Linked DNA regions of Homo sapiens: regions 2, 3 and 4 are each linked to region 1. Evidence: promoter capture Hi-C in 16 types of primary human blood cells and fetal thymus (Javierre and others, 2016). All regions are on one chromosome and are shown on one strand. The core of a region is centred on a gene start or on the middle of the fragment in contact, and the rest is flanking DNA. Distances in the headings are between cores, read along the strand shown.

Region 1 (3,141 bases), core at 377-2,876:
AGAATTGGTCAAACATGGGAAGCGGAGGTTGCAGTGAGCTGAGACAGCACTCCAGCCTGGGCAACAGAGGGAGACCCTGTCTCAAAAAATAGTAATAAATAAATTTAAAAAGTTCGGCCAGGCGCGGTGGCTCATGCCTGTAATCCCAGTGCTTTGGGAGGACGATCACCACTTTGGGTGGGCGGATCACCTGAGGTCGGGAGTTTGAGACCAGCCTGACCAACATGGAGAAACCCCGCCTATACTAAAAATACAAAATTAGCCGGGCGTGGTGGCGCATGCCTATAATCCCAGCTACTGGGGAGGCTGAGGCAGGAGAATCACTTGAATCCAGGAGGCGGAGGTTGCAGTGAGCTGAGATCGTGCCATTGCACTCCAGCCTGGGCAACGGAGTGAGACTCCGTTCTCAAAAAAAAAAAAAAGTTTAAAATATCATTGGTCTTTAAAGTTATACATTCATTCTTTGATAATTGCTATGTTGAACGCAACCTCCTAACTGCTTTACAATGATTAAGCACTAATGATTTGAACCCAGGTTTAAAGTCTGACTCTCAACACATGTGCTCTGCCTTCTCACGAACATGATTTCAAAAATCATAGCCCCGGGATTTGGGATTGGTGGCTTATGCCTGTAAACCCAGCGACAGAGCAAGACCCTACTCTTAAAAAAAAAAAAAATTAAAGAAAAAAAGAAAAATAAATCATAGTGTTGAACTGGCAGGTTTCACTGAGACGAAACTTGGGACTCTTCCTTTTTTTTTGTTTCGAATAAAGCCATTCTAGAATGAGACAAAATTCTAAAATATTTTATAGTTAACAGTTTAAATTGGGTTTAATCTTGACAAGACTATCTAGGGCTATATACACAAATCTCTTTTGGAGAAAATACCACAACTAAACTGAAGTCTATTCCTGAATATGACAGACCAGGTCAAATGGTTATCCTTGCCCTCCCGGGGGATGTCACTCATAAACGTGCCAAAAGTCACAGTCTAGGCCCCATTACCTTACATGCTCATGACCTTCCCAGGGAGGCCCCTCGCCCTTACCAGGCACTTTCATCTTGGGAAGACACATCAGTCCTGGCGGAGAAAGCAGCAAGGCCTTTCCCCGGCTCACAAAAATTAATACAAATCTCAGAGGCTGCATCCCACAGCCGTGACCACCGTGACTTGGCATCCCCTTTTCTGCAAACTTAAATGTTATCTAGAAATCGGGCCTGGCTCTGAAAGCCAAGGGCCTGGCAGGAGCCCGAGAAAGGGGAGAAACTTTCTGCGGCCCCAAGCTAATGGCAGTCACTGCACCGAGACCCGTCCCCTGGCATCCCTTTGCTCCAGCTGGCCAAGACAGACCACCAAGGTCAGCCAGATTTCCACCCAGTCTGGCCGGGCCCGGACCCAGCTGGGAATGAACCGAGAAGCACCGGGACCCGGATCCCGGCGTGAAAGGCCGCGCGCGGGGCACGGCGGGAAAAGACGCTGCGCGCAGAAACACCCGCCCCGCGCCGCGCTCTAGTGGGCGGCCCTGCCGCGGGCGGCTCTGATTGGACTGCCGAACCCCGCGCGCTGATTGGCCGCGTGGGCGAGGCGGAGGAGAGCCGTGCGCAGCGGCGTATGTGGGGCCGTGTGCAGACCCGCGTGTGGCGCAGGCAAGGACCCTCAAAATAAACAGCCTCTACCTTGCGAGCCGTCTTCCCCAGGCCTGCGTCCGAGTCTCCGCCGCTGCGGGCCCGCTCCGACGCGGAAGGTGAGGGCTGGGGGAGGGGCCCGGCGCTGACGGAGCCGCAGTGCGGGTCGGGTCTGTGGCGGACAGAGAGGGTAGGGAGCGGCGAGGTGGCGATGGCGGCCGCACTTTGGCCTGCGCCTCTGCTGCGTCAGGCGGGAAGCTCGGCTGCTGCCGCCGCCTCGGACCCGGGTTTCTGGCGCACCGCTGTCGGACGACACTTCTGTCCTTTCTTCGTCCTGGAAAGCTGGGTCGCCGAGCATGCGGGTCTTTCGGCGCCACGGCCGCACCCCAGGCCGCAGGCTTAGGGCAGAGGAGGCCCGCCCGTGCGCCCTTGGGGCCGAGGCCCTGACGCTTCGAGGGTCGCGGAATGAGGGACCGAGGGTGGATTTGGCGGGAACTCACTGGAAGGAGTCCGTGTGGTGGGGAAAGGCTCCCGGCTGCGGATGAAGGGGGGATGGGGTGGGTATAGTCGTGCAGGCCATGTGCTGGGGTCGTGCGCCTGGCGGGCCATGTGCCAAGGGTTTTGGGGGCCTTAGAAAAGGGTTCTTAGGCCGGGCGCGGTGGCTCACGCCTGTAATCCCAGCACTTTGAGAGTCCCAGGCGGGCGGATCACGAGGTCAGGAGTTCGAGACCAGCCTGACCAATATGGTGAAAGTTGGTCTGTACTAAAAATAAAAAATTAGCCGGGCATGGTGGCGGGCGCATGTAGTCCCAGCAGCTCGGGAGGCTGGACAGGAGAATCGCGTGAACCCCGGAGGCCGAGGTTGTGGTGAGCCGAGATCGCGCCACTACACTCCAGCATGGGCAACAGAGAGAGACTCCGTCTTAAAAAAACAAACAAACAAACAAACAAACAACAACAAAGGGTTCCTGAAGAAGCCTTTGTGTTTGGAGTGGCGAGACTGCTGGAAGACTTGGGAGCTTTTAGAGTTTATACTCCCTATCCTTGATAGTTTTCCGATTCTTGAATTTTTATCGTCATTTAAATACTAAGTTGCTTGTGTTACATTACCATTCCAAAAGGGGCTGATGGGGCTCACATTCCAAGAGTTAACACTATTTAAGTTGCTGGGATCCTTTAAAAGCGCCATTACCAGAAAAAACACGAATTTGTCAAACCTCCAAAACCACAGCAGCGGGCGGTAGTCTGCATCATTTCTTGGATTAATGAAACAGATGTAATTACAAACGAGACACGAAATTCAACTAGCTCCCCTCCATCTAGATTTTTCCATATCGTGAGAACCTGTTTTAGAATGGCATAATGGTCCACATTTGGGTTTAGGTGTTGATTTTATTATGGGTAAGGCTTGTGCTTGTTCCCACATGTTAACCATATGGCCTCAGCCACAGGGCACTTCCAAAGGAAGTGACTGTTTCTGGTCTTGGGGGTCTTGTAAAAAGAGAACATTGCTC
Region 2 (3,141 bases), core at 236-2,735, 450 kb after region 1:
AAGCTATGGGCAACTATGGAAGACTAACTGCTCATTCACTGGACTGAAGCGGTGTTTTCCTTTCTTTCTTTTCTTTCCTTTTTTTTTTTTTTTTTTTTTTTGAGGTAGGGTCTCATTCTGTCGCCCAGGCTAGAGTGCAGTGGTGAAATCTCAGCTCCACCTCCCAGGTTCAAGCGATTCTCATGCAACATCCACCTCCCAGGTTCGAGCGATTGTCATGTCTCAGCCTCCCAAGTAGCTGGAATTACAAGTGCCCACCACCACGCCTGGCTAATTTTTTGTATTTTCAGTAGACACAGGGTTTCGCTATGTTGGCCAGGCTGGTCTTGAACTCCTGGCCTCAAGTGATCCGCCCACCTCGGTCTCCCAAAGTGCTGGGATTACAGGCATGAGCCACTGTGCCTGGCCGAACCTCTGCTTTTAACCCCAATGGATTTAAGTAGCATTTACAAGAGGTAGTCTCAAACTGACACGTTTTACTCCAGGATAACCTTCCCCAGTCCCTTGAGGTTCCCCTACACTGGTGAGTAAACAAGCTGTACCATGGTGCCATAAAGAAATGGCTTTCTACCAGAGGGAACTAAAATTAGAGAGAAAAAGTTACAAGTGCTAGCAAGGATGTGGAATATTTGGACTTCTTATATACTGCTGGTGGAAGAATACGCTGGTACAACTTTTGAAAACTGGCCATATCTACTAGAGCAGAATAGATACTCTTATGAAGTGAACTGTGTCCACCTAAAATTTTTAAGTTGAAATTCTAATCCCCAATATATCAGAATGTGACTTATTTGCAGACAGGGCCTTTAAAGAAGTAACTGAGGTTAAGTGAGGTCATAAGGGTGGGCCTCAATCCAATACGACTGGTGTCCTAAAAGAAAAGGAGAATAGGACACAGCCAATACAGAGGAAAGATCCTGTGAAGATACAGGGAAGAGAAGACAGTCATTTACAAACCAAGGAGAGGCTTCAGAAGAAACTAATCCTCCCGACAGCTTGACCTCAGATTTCTAACCTTCAGAATTGAGAAAATAAATTTCTGTTTAAGCCACTCTATCTGTGATACTTGTTACGGCAGCCCTAGCAAATGAATACAGACACATACCCTAAAACTCAGTCTTTTTACTTAAATACATTATGATATATCACATAATACTACTGAGCAATGGAAACTCCAGTTACAACTGTACACAACAACACAAAGTCTCACAAACAACACTGAGTCAAAGAAACCAGATACGCAAGAATACACAGTGTATGATTCCATTTACACAAAATCCAAATCAGGCAAAATTAGTCTACAGTTCTAGAAATCAGAAGACTCACTACGCAAGCATCAGGGCATCGATGATAATGACTTAAAGGAGACTAAGAGGGCCTCTGGGTTTATAAAAATTCTCTAAGCCGTCCACTTATTTGTGCACTTTTCTGTATATATGTATGTTTACTAAAATACAGAAATGATAAATTACTTGGAAATACAGGCAACAATGTACTTATCCAGTGTTACCATGGCAAATAAACCTTACTCTGGAGCTGGATGCATCAGGTTCCTCACTCGTTACCAACAAACATTTGAAAAATACAGCTATTCCTATGATCCCCAGCTTCTCATCATTCAGTGTCTACTAGGAGAAGTATCACAGGTCACATCACCCAAGAGTATCTGGTCTCCTCCACAGTTAAATTCTCACATCATTTTTGGGGAGAGTTCAATTTCTTTTTTCTTGAGACAGGGTCTTGCTCTGCCACCCAGGCTGGAGTGCAGTGCCACGAACACAAACCACTGCAGCCTTAAACTCCTGGAATCAAGTGATCCTCCCGTCTCAGCCTCCCACCATCTGGAACCACAAGTGTACCACCACACCCACCTAATTTTTTCTTTTCTTTGTAGAGATGGAGTCTTACTTTGTTGCTGAAGGTGGTCTTGAACTCCTGGGCTCAAGCAATCCTCCTGCCTTACCCTCCCAAAGTGCTGGGATTACTCCTCCCAAAGTACTGACCACCATGCCTGGCCAAGAGTTCAATCTCATTAAAGGAAGGTATGAAAGTATACATTCAAAGGAAGAAAATAACCAGTTAACACTTTGGTCTTCCTCGGGGTAGTGAATCACAAATTTTCCTTCTTTATATTTCTGAATTTTCCTAGCTTTTTTTTTTTAACTGAATAGTTTAATAATCAGCAAAAAAGACGTATCATTTTAAATAAAAGGTAGTGGGCCAGGCGTGGTGGTTCACGCCTGTAATCCCAGCACCTTGGGAGGCCAAGGCGGGCGGATCACAGGGTCAAGGGATTGAGACCATCCTGGCCAACATGGTGAAACCCCATCTATACTAAAAATACAAAAATTAGCTGGGCATGGTGACGTGCACCTGTAGCCCCAGCTACTCAGGAGGCTGAGGCAGGAGAATTGCTTGAACCCGAGAGGCGGAGGTTGCAGTGAGCCGAGATCATGCTACTGCACTCCAGCCTGGCGACAGAGCTTGACTCTGTCTCAGAGAGAGAAAAAAAAAAAAGGTAGTGGAAGAAAGAGACACTTTTTTTTTTTTTTGAGATGGAATCTTGCTCTGTCGCCAGGCTGGAGTGCAATGGCACGATCCCGGCTCACTGCAAGCTCCGCCTCCCCAGTTCAAGCGATTCTACTACCTCAGCCTCCTGAATAGCTGGGACTACAGTGCATGCCACTATGCCCAGCTAATTTTTATATTTTTAGTATAGACGGGGTTTCACCACGTTGGCCAGGATGGTCTCTATCTCTTGACCCTGTGATCCACCCTCCTCGGCCTCCCAAAGTGCTGGGATTACAGGTGTGAGCCATCGCCCCCGGCCGAAAGATACACTTTTACAAGGGGTGAAATGTCGTGGTCTTTAGGGCACTAGCATATAATGGAAAGGCAGGATGGTACATCAGAAAGAGCACTGAACTGAGTTAGCAGACCTAGACTGACATTCCAGCTGAGCCACCTGAGCATACAGCCTCAGCTATTTCAGGCAGATACACACAACAGTTGTGAGCACCAAATGAAATCACATGTAAACTACAAATACCACAGAAACATTAAAAAGCATTTAAAGGCAAATGTGTAGGAAGGTTTCTACAAAATGTTATCGCTTTTTTAACAACCATTAACATGGTGCAG
Region 3 (3,141 bases), core at 345-2,844, 390 kb after region 1:
TCTGCCTTCTGTTGAGAATTTGTCAGTCTGTTGTTCCTTTATAAGTCATGTCTTTTTTTTCTATAGTTGCTCTTAAGATTTTGCTTTTCGGTCTTCTACAATTTTAAGTCTTCTTTTAGAAAATTTGCTCAGCTCTTACGGCTTACTGCTTTTTTCAGCTCCATTTAATCTACAGTTTAACTGTTCCTTTAGCTTATTTCAATACTATGTTTTCACTTCTTGAAGTTCTAAGTTTTCCATATCCTCATTTTTTTATAGTATCCCTTTCCATTATGGTTTCTATTTCTTTTTAGAACATCTCTAGTCATTGTGAACATCTCTTGTGGTACATTATTTCCTCATGTGGTTATGAACTCATCTTCTCTCCTGCGGTACTAAATGTCCCTACAGAGTGGTCTTACCCTTGTTTTTGCCAGGAATGACAGGGATTTATGTTAAATCCTTTGAGACAAAGATTTCTGTACATGTGGAGAGTGGGACTGAGAATCTCCAACAACTGCAGACACAAGCTTTGCCAATTTCTTGGGCCAAGGTTTTCCAGTTCTACTCTCAAGCTTGACTTGCTTAAACTGTAGTTACATTTTGAAGATCTCTAGGTGTATGTGTGTAGGTGAGGTGAGGATGAGAGATTCATACCAGCTCTGTCCTAGAAGTGTGAGTCAATTAAGAGTCCTGATCCTCTAGGAGCATGCCATGGCTCGAGGTCAACACGTGCACAAATTTCTACCTTTAACCTACATCATTCACACATTTCAGCAAGCCCCCACTATTTGCCAGGTACTTTCTAGGACTATAATGGGATTAGAATTGTATTTGCCTCTAGAAGCACATAGGAAAGAACAACTGCCATGGAGATAGAAGTTTCCAAAGATCTGAGCTAAAAGTTGGAGACTTCAGGTGGGTATACAGGCCCTGCTGGAAGCAGAGACATATCCACCAACACAAGTCTGTAAGAGCAGCACATGATTCGGAATGACTGGAACGAGACAAAAAAAAAAAAAGTGAGTAACAGCTATTTCCACCATCTTTTCTTGCCTCCGTAATGCATGAACGTCTTGGCTGATGCTCTCAAGGGCAAACACCAGGTTCTTATTAGGCTGTGCTCCCAAGTCATGGTCTGGTTCTAAGTGTGAAGATGAAACATGATCACATTGAAAATTTGAAATCACTGGTCATCACAGAGCTGGGAAAATTACTGTAAACCTCACAGGCAGGTTAAAACTGCCCCTGGAATGATTGGCCCCAGATGTGATGTGCAACTCAAAGATCTAGAAAAATGACAGGATAATCTACTCCTATCCCAATAGTTTGGTTTCAAAGTGAGGTTGTACTGACAACCTCAGCTGGCATCATGGACCATGAAGAAAGAGATGAAAATACAGGAGGGAAAATCCTGGGATTCTTTTTTTTTTTTTTTTTTTTTTTTAAATTTAGAGACAGGGTCTCACTCCATCACCCAGGCTGGAGTATAATGGAGCAGTCACAGCTCACTGCAGGCTCAAACTCCTGGGCTCAAGGTATCCATCCTTCAGGGGTTTCTTTTCTAGGGATGTTAATACATGTATACAAACAAAATGACTCAATGGGGGAAAAAAAGGGAATAATAGTTTATAGCCAGAATGTGAAGGCTTTTCAACAAGTCATATGAAAGAATCTGTATCTTATCCTAACTGTTGAAAGGGAACCCTTGAAAGATTAATAAGCTGATACATAAAAAAAAGATTGGCTCAATAGACACACAACTCTTGAAGTTACGTATGAAATAGGAAGTCAGAAAAATAAAGTTTATGTCTCACTACTGAGGTGAGACAAAGATGTTTACCTAAAGCACTGGGCAAGGATGTCAAGAGAGGCACAAGACAGAGACCTGCAGGTTGCCAAATTTAGCAAACAACAAAACCAAAAACAACAAAAAACAAGAAAGGATAAATCTGAGTTTTTTTTTAAGAAGAATTTTTTAGTGTGTCTTAGCAAGTCGTATCTGAGATACACTAGAAGTATACTAAAAAAGTATTCACTATTGATCTGAAATTCAAATTTAACTGAGTATCAGCCAATTATCTACAAATAAGATAATAAGATTTGAAGAACAGGGAAGGAAAATGTCTATGCATGAGGAAAGATTAAGACTAAATGAACTATCAAGGCCTGGTCAGCACAGCCAAGACATGTGCTTACCTGCATTGTGACTAGCCTGTCATCCACCATCACCTCCTTGGTCAGAAAGTCAGCTCCTATTGTGGCTTTGTACTGATTGCTGAATTTCTTATTCACATACTGGTTCATGAGTGATGTCTTCCCGACTCTGAAATTGGAGAAAAACCATAAGTATAAGTCAAATAGGAGGGTCCTGAAACTGACACGAATTACTTGAAGCATTTAAAAGAATCTGCCTGACCTGAAGGACAAGAAACTGCCCTCACAGCAAAGGGCAATGCCAGTAGCCTTCCGAGCATTACACTTTTGAAGTTTTGTGTTTTCTCTCTGGGTAAAAATATAGGGTACAGATGTGGGGCAGATGTGGAAAAGCTGCTTACATGTTTTGGCACAGCCAGGTCAAATGGTAGAGCCTAGTATTATTTTTTCCATTCTAGAAGGATGCCAGCAAATATACTGCTTTCTAAAAGAAGCTTCACTATTAAGACTGTTCTGCTATTCCAACAGTATCCCTGCTATCTTAGATGTTTCTCCATTTAGTGGCTGCTATTTAGCTTGATGAAGTAACACCAGGAGGAAGACCTTGGCTTTCAGCAGACACACACCACTCAGACAATTTGCTGCTTTAAAGTTTAAAATCTGAAGCAGAAAAAGCACCAATATATCACCAAAACAAATCCACCTCAAAGAATGCTCCTCCAAATATGTTTTCTAGTAAGAAAACTCAGCAAGAGACAATGTGTGATTTTTGTGTGATAAGGTTAAGGTAACCTAAAGCTAATACAAAAACCTTCCCCCCCATAGCCAGTGATATCACCTTTCTTGGCCACAAAGGAACATGTTCATATTTGTGTTAAAGAACCTGGAGGTACCTAGACAGCCGAAGGCAGTGTTTTCCAACCCAGACCATCTAAGCCAGAATCTACAAGGTGAGAGGTGGCAAAACCTGGAATCGAACAAGGGCTTGGTGAGACTTTTTGCACA
Region 4 (3,141 bases), core at 211-2,710, 270 kb after region 1:
ATAAATCTCCTTAATCAGAGTCAGGCTTGCCCTTACTCCTAAAGCAGATTTTCTGAATTCTAAACTGGAGGCCTAGAGGTACCAGGGCCCTTCCTCCTTGGCACAATTTCCAATTTTGAAATCCAATTTTGTTTCTCTAGCAATGCAGCATTTTCCAAAATACCTCCTTAGCTTCTAAACTTCTTAAGCTTCTTTTTCTGCTTATGTTCTTATTTCTGCCTTATCCATGTGCAAATTAGGAGTCAGTAAATCCCTTGAGAGAAAACTGCAAAAAGAAAATGGAACCACCATTATTTCCCTTTTCTCCAGATTCTTGGACTCTCAAATCCTGGTTGCCTTGGTTGTTCTCCAGTGATGTTAGATAGATGTCTATTTCTTCTTGTAATCCTGTCAGTTGTTTCTTAATATATTTTGAGACTATATTGCTAGGTGCATATATATTTACAAGTTATCCCTTTTTGTTGTCCTCAATATACAATATCCTTTTGCCCCTTTTGATAGATTTTTAACTTGAATTGTTTCAGCAGATATTAAGAATGCCACACAGCTTTTTTGTCTTTGTTTTCTCATGCCTTTTTGCCTAGTGTATATGCTGTCTCCCTTTAGTTGTCAAACCTGTATCTTTGTGTTGAAAGTTTTGTAGATAGCATATTGTTAGCTTGAAAAAAAAATCCAGGCTGGGTGCAGTGGCTCACGCCTGTAATCCCAACACTTTGGGAAGCTGAAGTGGGTGGATCGCTTGAAGTCTGGCGTTCGAGACCAGCCTGAACATGGTGAAACCCTGTCTCTACTAAAAATACAAAATTAGCCAGGCGTGGTGGCACACGCCTGTAATCCCAGCTACTTGGGAGGCTGAGGCAGGAGAATCACTTCATCTCGGGAGGCGGAGGTTGTAGTAAGCCAAGATCGCGCCATTCCACTCCAACCTGGGCAACAAGAGCAAAACTCTGTCTCAAAAAAAAAAAAAAAAAAAAAAAATCCAATCTGAGATTCTTTAATTGGCAAGCTTAACATTAATTACTGTTAGGTTAGGCATTTTTGCCACCTAATCTACTTTTAAACCCTCCGTTCCTGTGTTCCTTGGATAGATCAAGTTTTCTTCTGTGGACTTAAGTTATACATTCTATCTTTCTTTTTAAGGTGGTTATCCTGAAGACCATATGGTTAGGCATTCCTACTGAACATTAAACTCATAAAACTATATTCTCTTTATAAGACAAATTGTACATTTACATCCCTTTTATCTCATCTCCTACCCACACTCCACCATCCCTTTTATAGTCTCTAGAATTTCAATTCCAGGCTCTGAAATTTTATTTTCCTAGTCCTTTTAAGACAACTTTACTAGGCTATCGGACATTACTTGCTAACCTTGAATCCTCCTGCATGTTCCTCCTCCATTTTGAATTTCTCCAAAGAGTTTTGTGACTTTTGTTTTGTTTTTTTGAGACGGAGTCTGGCTCTGTCACCCAGGCTGGAGTAGAGTGGCATGATCTCGGCTCAATGCAACCTCTGCCTCCTGGATTCAAGCGATTCTCCTGCCTCAGCTTCCCAAGTGGCTGGGACTACAGGCGTGTGCCACCATGCCCAGCTAATTTTTGTATTTTTTAGTATGGAAAGGGTTTCACTGTATGTTGGCCAAGCTGGTCTTGAACTTCTGACCTCAGATGATCTGCCTGCCTAGGCTTCCCAAAGTACTGGGATTACAGGCATGAGCCACCACATCTGGCCCCAAGAGTTTTTAAAGGAGGGTTTTATGTAAAACCTAAGGCCTTTAAACCTAAGCCCTCACAATTAGTTTGCTTGGATATGAAATTGTAGGTTGAAGTTAACTTACCTTGTTGCTGTTGTGGATCTGATCACAAGTGATAGTTTTTCTTTACAGGTGGCCTGCTCTTTTCCTCTAGAAGCTTTGAGAGTTTATCTTTGTATTTGTTTGCTTAAATCCCACTAATAATAGTGTACCCAGGCTTGGAAGTTTTGTCTTTTCTGACATTCATTATTGCTTCAAATTTTCTTGTTCTCACTTTTCCCCTCCTTTTGGGATTTCTGTTATTTGGATGTTATTTCCATCCTCTATACTCAGTTTCTAATTTTATCTTTTTTATACAGGACTGCTTTCTGAAAGCATATCTCAAGTGGATATTCCAGTTCATTCATTCGTTCTACAACAGTATCACTTCTGCAATATATCTCATTCTCTTGTCTTCTATTTCAACTATTTTCATACTCAATACTTTTTCTTTTAGTTTTACTTCTGCTTCATATTGCTATCTTCACTCTTATTTTAAAACAATTTCTTATGTTAAATTCTTAGCCCATCTTTTCCAATAATTTAGCTTCAGTTGTTCAGTCTGTGGCCTTTTTTAAATACTGTATTTACTTCTCCAGCATCTAGTTACTTTTGCTCTGAGTCCAAATTCTCCTGCAGGTGTCACCCCTCAGCAGAGAATCTCAGGCACCCAGAAGAACTACGGAACAGTTTGCTTTCCCTGTAATAAGCATTAGGTCAGAATTTCAACTTCAAATTGTAAGAAAGGAGTAGCATGGAAAGAAGAATCTGTCCCCCTAGGTTGTAATTCACGAATTCTAGGATTTGGAAGGAGCAGGGGACTTCTAGGAATGGCTAACTGAGAAACTCAGATCAACTCCCCCACTAAGGACAACTAGAAAAACTGGACACATCAAGAAATATTGATTGAAGTTCCATGTGGGCCATGACAGGATCCTTGCTCTATGTGGCATCCCTAGTATAATCTTCTCGCAGGTGCTCCAAAGTCTGAGGACCTAGACTTGCCTTTACCTTGCATCCCTTGTTGCCTGGACAGTCTGTTCTTTCATGTGTGTGAATCACAAATTTTGTCCTCCCCTGATTATTTTAAATTCTTGTGCATTAATTCCTCAAAGATTCCAAAGTCAAGCCACTGTAGTTGAGCTAAGGTCACCATCTTGTGCTAAAAAATTTTTTAAAGGTAAAAGATGGTATTTTGCTGAAGGTTACTGTGAAATATGCATATGAAACACTGCACAGTGCCCAACAATTTAGAGTGGTAACTTTCCCAGTTCTCCCTTGTTTTGGGTCCCAGCCACCTTTCCCCCCAGCCTTCTGTGTTGTCTTTTATCTCCTTCCACATTTCTATT

What was found. Contacts are between HindIII fragments. The CHiCAGO score rates a contact against its expected background, and 5 or more counts as called.
Region 2: a contact is called between a fragment that was not itself captured here and the fragment with the promoter of CNBP in region 1, in 1 of 17 cell types (naive CD8 T cells). The highest score is 5.5, in naive CD8 T cells.
Region 3: a fragment that was not itself captured here is called in contact with the fragment with the promoter of CNBP in region 1 in 2 of 17 cell types (fetal thymus and naive CD4 T cells); the score reaches 5.9 in fetal thymus.
Region 4: a fragment that was not itself captured here is called in contact with the fragment with the promoter of CNBP in region 1 in 1 of 17 cell types (total CD8 T cells); the score reaches 5.6 in total CD8 T cells.

What each region holds. Positions count from the first base shown.
Region 1 is chr3:129,182,381-129,185,521 of GRCh38, reverse strand. CNBP (CCHC-type zinc finger nucleic acid binding protein) reads left to right here and starts at 1,626. Exons shown (of 5, transcript NM_003418.5): 1 at 1,626-1,746. LOC105374101 (a long non-coding RNA gene) reads right to left here and starts at 1,448. Exons shown (of 2, transcript XR_924469.3): 1 at 1,050-1,448. RefSeq lists an enhancer at 1,203-1,292. The HindIII fragment of the contact is 13,108 bases long and covers 1-3,141 here.
Region 2 is chr3:128,731,415-128,734,555 of GRCh38, reverse strand. All of the region lies in intron 1 of RAB7A (RAB7A, member RAS oncogene family), which reads right to left. Among named protein-coding and RNA genes, the nearest start is that of RAB7A, 6.8 kb to the right of the region's middle. RefSeq lists an enhancer at 3,039-3,141. The HindIII fragment of the contact is 3,728 bases long and covers 1-3,141 here.
Region 3 is chr3:128,797,107-128,800,247 of GRCh38, reverse strand. It overlaps RAB7A (RAB7A, member RAS oncogene family), which reads right to left. Exons shown (of 6, transcript NM_004637.6): 3 at 2,179-2,305. It also overlaps the pseudogene RPS15AP16. Among named protein-coding and RNA genes, the nearest start is that of MIR12124, 48 kb to the left of the region's middle. The HindIII fragment of the contact is 2,076 bases long and covers 557-2,632 here.
Region 4 is chr3:128,916,778-128,919,918 of GRCh38, reverse strand. All of the region lies in intron 12 of CFAP92 (cilia and flagella associated protein 92 (putative)), which reads left to right. Among named protein-coding and RNA genes, the nearest start is that of ACAD9, 39 kb to the right of the region's middle. The HindIII fragment of the contact is 904 bases long and covers 1,009-1,912 here.